Regions from separate parts of the Homo sapiens genome. Here region 2 is linked to region 1. The links are contacts of gene promoters, found by promoter capture Hi-C in human tissues and cell types (Jung and others, 2019). All regions are on one chromosome and are shown on one strand. The core of a region is centred on a gene start or on the middle of the fragment in contact, and the rest is flanking DNA. Distances in the headings are between cores, read along the strand shown. Region 1 holds the start of PWP2 (PWP2 small subunit processome component). Region 2 overlaps AGPAT3 (1-acylglycerol-3-phosphate O-acyltransferase 3).

Region 1 (2,700 bases), core at 117-2,616:
TTAATTACTCTTAGTGGAGATGCCAGATATCCCATACAGAATTAGCAGAGAAAATACACACAGGCTTCTATTCAAATTTTCTTTAGTGCTTAAAATTAAGTTTTAAAATGAAATCAGACACTGCAGGTTTGTATATAAAATGAAAAGCTATACTACTTTTTACAAAAGGGCAAACTGGGCTGATGTAAATGTTTTACTTTCAACTGTGTTCTTTAAAATAAATCCTACCTGGTTTTTAAATTTTATTTTTCATGAAAATGCTCCTTTCTCTACATTTATTCATCCTATATACATCAGGCTGTAAGACCCCCCCCAGTCATCATTAATACAATGTGTTGGGATTCTGTGACTGGAAAAGGTGACAAGTTGGTGACTTTGACACTGCAGGTATTCCATTTTCATGGTTTACTATGAAAAGTCATTTTTCATATTATGTAATATATTGTTAGATTAAAACCATTGTATTAAGACTTTAAAATGTAAGCATTGTAATTCTGAAAATACACATTTTAAGAAGAAACTATTTTGCACTGGATCTTTTGCTGCGACATGGTGTGACAACAGTATGTAATGTGAAGATTTTATTGTTTTATCTCCCTAGTCCTTGTTCCTGACTCTTGGGCATAGATTATTTGCCTTTTGGGAAACATTCGGATTATTTTTTTTTTTTTTTTTTTTTTTTTCTCTGAGACAGTCATGCTCTGTTGCCTAGGCTGGAGTGCAATGGCGCGATCTGGGCTCACTGCAGCCTCCGCCTCCCAGGTTCAAGCCATTCTCCTGCCTCAGCCTCCCGAGTAGCTGGGACTACAGGCATGCGCCTCATTTTTATACTTTAGTAGAGATGATGTTTCACCATGTTGGCCAGGCTAGTCTCGAACTGCTGACCTCAGGTCATCCACCCGCCTCAGTCTCCCAGGCGTGAGCCACCGCACCGGCCAGCATTCGGGACTTTATTCATAATTCCTTACCCAACAGTTCACAAGAACGAAGACATTTGGGTGTGCAGCGCTCTCATGTTGTGGACGCTGCTGTGCCAGGCTGGGCGTCCGTGCGGAGCGCGCCCAGCGCTGGAGCGCGCCTAAGAGGCGCCCTGCAGTGTGGCTCCGGGGTGTGGGCGGGGCCCGGAGAAGGCCCCCGCCTTGGGAGGGGTTGGGCCTCGCGTTCAAACTCCGCCTCGGGGCGGGGCGAGGGCGACGCAGCTCCTCCTGCCTCCTGGGCCGCTGCGGACGGTGGTGCGCGACCCCGTCCCGGGCGCGCGCGCTGTGGGCGGTGCACGCCGTCGCTTCCCGGAAGTGCGTGCTGTGGGCGGTGCCGCGCGGACCCCCGGGAAGTGTCTCTGTGGGCGGCCGCCGGGTTGAGCTGCGGCACACGTGCGACGGCCGTGATGAAGTTCGCTTACCGGGTGAGCGCGGGCGGCGGGCGGTCTGTTGGATCGGCGCGGCTCTTCCGGTGGACGGCGCCTGAGCTGGCTCCGGGCGGGCTGGGGGCGCGTGGTCTGCTTTTGCGGCGTCTGGCCGCGTGGGGGTCGCCGGCTGTCTGCGCGCCCGTGGCCTCGGGGACGCGGGGCTGTGGTGGGGCTCCTGGGAGAGCTGGGACGGAGGCGCCGACGGCTTCTCGGAGGGAACAGGGACATTTGTCGGGGTCCCGGGATATTTTTAACCTGAGTATGGCCCAACCTAAAGGCTGGAGTTGGTGCAGTCGGGGAGGGCACAGCACCCTCGGGAGGGATGAGGAGGTGGGACGGGGCGGGGACGCGGGCGCGCGCAGGCGGGGTGAGAACAGCAGGGACCCGGGGCCCGGGACTGGTCCCTAACGAGCGAGCGTCCAGGTGAGCGGAAGGGCGGGGAACCCAGGTGTGAGCTCTGTTTCCCGAGGCCGGAGGGAATTCCTGAGGCGGACGCCCTCAGCTTTGAGAGCCAGGGAAGACTTGTCCCAGATGTGAAGTGCAGGAGGCGGGTGAGACAGGTAATAAGAGGGGGCCGTGGAGCCGGCCTGGGGGTCTCTGAAGCGTTTGCTACAGCTGGCCGGTTATGGGGACGCCTGTGTTTCCCACAGTGGCCCTGACCGTTGCGCTTCCAGGGTTGCACGGGCCGCCTGCTGCTGAGCCCACCGTGTACTACACTTGTCCTGTCCGAAACTGGGCATGGTACTGGCCCCTCAGAGTGCTGCTCCTGTGTCCCCTGTGCTGGTGGAGCCACCGCTGTGTGCCCAGCACCAAACCAGAAACCATATCCACGTCCTCACAGGCCAGGACTTCATCCGCTCCACATTCCTACTGCAAGGTGGCAAAAAATGTGCCTTGGAGCCTGCCTGGCCGCTTAAAGTCCTTCTGCTGACCAAGCTCCTCCCTGAGGTCCTGAGGGCGCTGCCCACTCACAGCTTCAGGGCCTGGCTGGTGCCTTCCCATTTAGATTCCAGCTCAGGTGACCCTTCCAGGTGCCTCTCCGTGACCACCGTCTAAAGTAGCCCCTGCTCCCACACTTCTCATCCCCCTCCTGCTAGAGAGAGAATATAAGGTGTGCGTGTCTGTGCGCATGGCAGTCTCCAGTGAACGCTCGTGCTCGTGAGTTAGTAAATAGGATGCTGGCTTACCACACTTCTGGAAGCCCTGAGTTCTAAGCACTTTTGGGGTGCTGTTCCATTGTTGCAGCTTTTTTCTTGGTGAAGTGTGGGCTCCATGCCCCTCTTCACCTGGCAGAC
Region 2 (2,700 bases), core at 190-2,689, 130 kb before region 1:
TGATGGTGCCCTTCACTACTTCCCAAGCATCCTAGAGTCCCACGGGCTGCCCCGCCCACGGGCAGTGGCTGCGGAGTGTCTGCTCTATCAGGCATGGTGATTTCCTGCCAGCCTGTGCCTTTGACATTCCCACCAGAGGCAGAACCTTCTGCAGGTGGCCCTGGCCAGGCTCCTCTCTCCTCCCAGCTCCTCATTAGCCTCCTTTGCCAGGCTAGGAAACCGAGGTATGCGAGGTTAAGGAACTTTCCTTGGGCCGTGCAGCTGAGAGTGCGCTTTGCAGGGATTTGCATCCAGGCCGCGGGACTCACACAGGCCACACCTGCCACCCCCACTGCCTCTGGCTCGTGGGAGGTGTGGGATGTGGCGGGTGGCCGGGGCAGTGCTGGGCAGGCAGGTGTTGGTATTCACAACGTTGCTTTCTTGACCGATTATTTTCCTGGGAGACTTCCTCAGTCAAAGGGTTGATATGCTTGCGAGCTCTCGATGCACGCTATCAGATTCTCCAAAAACGTACAGCCAGCTTCGCCTGCACCTGCAGCTTCTGTGATTTGTGCTCTTAATTGACGTGGCGCTTTTTTTAGGTTGAGTCGTTTTTCATTGCCAACAATCTTCTCCTGCATTGAAATAATAGCTTGTAAAGAAGCCTCACGCTTCCTTTTTCTCTGTTGACTCTTCTAGGACGCGCTCCAGGAGATATATAATCAGAAGGGCATGTTTCCAGGGGAGCAGTTTAAGCCTGCCCGGAGGCCGTGGACCCTCCTGAACTTCCTGTCCTGGGCCACCATTCTCCTGTCTCCCCTCTTCAGTTTTGTCTTGGGCGTCTTTGCCAGCGGATCACCTCTCCTGATCCTGACTTTCTTGGGGTTTGTGGGAGCAGGTAATGGACACTGTCGCTAACAGCTCACACTCTGACGGGCCTCACAGTATCAGCCACAGGGTCCGGGACCTGGTGACTCATCACAGTGGCTGTGGGAGGCAGGGGCCTGGCTGTTATGGACCCTGGAGCCAGGATCCCCCCACGGCCTGCGGGCCTCAGAGCCTGGATTCTTGCACTGAGCTGAGGGTCGCCTCCCCAGAGAGCCGAACGGCCGCCACCTGGCGCCATCCCCACTGCAGCCCCACTGGCTGGCGCCCTTGAGGATGCCGACGAGAGGGTCCCCGAGAGGGTCCCCAGCCCCCCTGTCTGCTTTTGGGCTCTTAGGGGTCAGGCTGGGCTGGCCATTCGGGAGGTTTAAGCAGGACATCATCATTCAGCTCCTCCCCATTGACCCCCAGTGACTTCCCCACTGTGTGCCCACCCCAGGCACAATGCCAGGCCCACCACGACTCATCAGCTAGCCTGGGGCCGAACAGACACCCAGCCTGTCCCTGTGGTGAGCTCCGGCGCCCACCCACACCCCGTAATTGAGGGGTCTCTGTCCGTGGAGACACAGTCCGTGTGCATCGCCCCGTGAGCCGACTCCCCAGGCCCAGCAGCTGGGCCAGCTCCTCCCCTGCTCCTGCCGCCCCTGCCAGGGGCCTTGGTGGGAGGGGTCCTGAGAGGCAGTGACTGCCACCAGCCTCTCCCATTGGACTACGAGATGACTTGAGGCCACCCACAGAGGACAGGATGTGACCTGCTTACATCCGAGGGTCCTGCTCGTCCACCTCTGTCACCTGTTGGGTTTGCAAGGCCGAGCTGTTAGAATGCCCCGAAGCCCTTCTGCTCCCACCAGCCAAAGACCCAGAGGGGCAGGCAGGGCAAGGTCCACGTGTCCACCTGCCTCGGACCCAGCCGGTCAGAAGACGTGCCCCTCACCCCTGCCTGAGCAGACCACGGTCTGAGAGGGCTGTCTCCCCGCGGGCCACACCTACTCACTGACAGCAGAGGCCACTGGGTGCGGGGCAGAGGGACAGGGTCTGGGGCAGAGGAAGGAAGCCCCAGTAACACGTTTTACAGCAAAAAGGCAAAGTCATCCGTCTCACCTCTTCTCTCTCTCTCCTGTCTTGAAAGCTTCCTTTGGAGTTCGCAGACTGATAGGAGTAACTGAGATAGAAAAAGGCTCCAGCTACGGAAACCAAGAGTTTAAGAAAAAGGAATAATTAATGGCTGTGACTGAACACACGCGGCCCTGACGGTGGTATCCAGTTAACTCAAAACCAACACACAGAGTGCAGGAAAAGACAATTAGAAACTATTTTTCTTATTAACTGGTGACTAATATTAACAAAACTTGAGCCAAGAGTAAAGAATTCAGAAGGCCTGTCAGGTGAAGTCTTCAGCCTCCCACAGCGCAGGGTCCCAGCATCTCCACGCGCGCCCGTGGGAGGTGGGTCCGGCCGGAGAGGCCTCCCGCGGACGCCGTCTCTCCAGAACTCCGCTTCCAAGAGGGAGCCTTTGGCTGCTTTCTCTCCTTAAACTTAGATCAAATTTTTTGGTTTTTAATCAGTTATCTTGGGAACTTAACCTGGCCCCTCACCTCTTCTGCACCCCCCGCCCCCGAAACTGTCTCGTAATGAATTTCTGCTGTCCTCCTGGGAGTGGACGGCCGGGTCCCGTCCCCCGGGAGCATCGCTCGGCTCAGCACCTTGGCTCCCAGTGGGGGCCCCGTGGAGGGCGCCCGTAGTGATAAGCACACCGGCACGAACGTCAGGTCCATTCCTCGAAGTCGGAGCCCTCACTCTGCCCTGTCCTGGGGCTGGCTGAGGGCGAACGCCCCA

Evidence for each region. Contacts are between HindIII fragments. The study calls those that stand out against the background at their distance.
Region 2: a contact is called between a fragment that was not itself captured here and the fragment with the promoter of PWP2 in region 1, in 3 of the 25 tissues and cell types used here (lymphoblastoid cells, mesendoderm cells and thymus).

Annotation. Positions count from the first base shown.
Region 1 is chr21:44,106,033-44,108,732 of GRCh38, forward strand. PWP2 (PWP2 small subunit processome component) reads left to right here and starts at 1,367. Exons shown (of 21, transcript NM_005049.3): 1 at 1,367-1,402. The coding sequence starts at 1,385. TRAPPC10 (trafficking protein particle complex subunit 10) reads left to right here. Exons shown (of 23, transcript NM_003274.5): 23 at 1-520. RefSeq lists silencers at 913-1,429, 1,020-1,403. The HindIII fragment of the contact is 7,831 bases long and covers 1-2,700 here.
Region 2 is chr21:43,980,311-43,983,010 of GRCh38, forward strand. It overlaps AGPAT3 (1-acylglycerol-3-phosphate O-acyltransferase 3), which reads left to right. Exons shown (of 10, transcript NM_020132.5): 9 at 679-877; 10 at 1,994-2,700. The coding sequence ends at 2,082. Among named protein-coding and RNA genes, the nearest start is that of TRAPPC10, 31 kb to the right of the region's middle. RefSeq lists enhancers at 896-1,657, 1,658-2,419, 2,420-2,700. The HindIII fragment of the contact is 5,682 bases long and covers 1-2,700 here.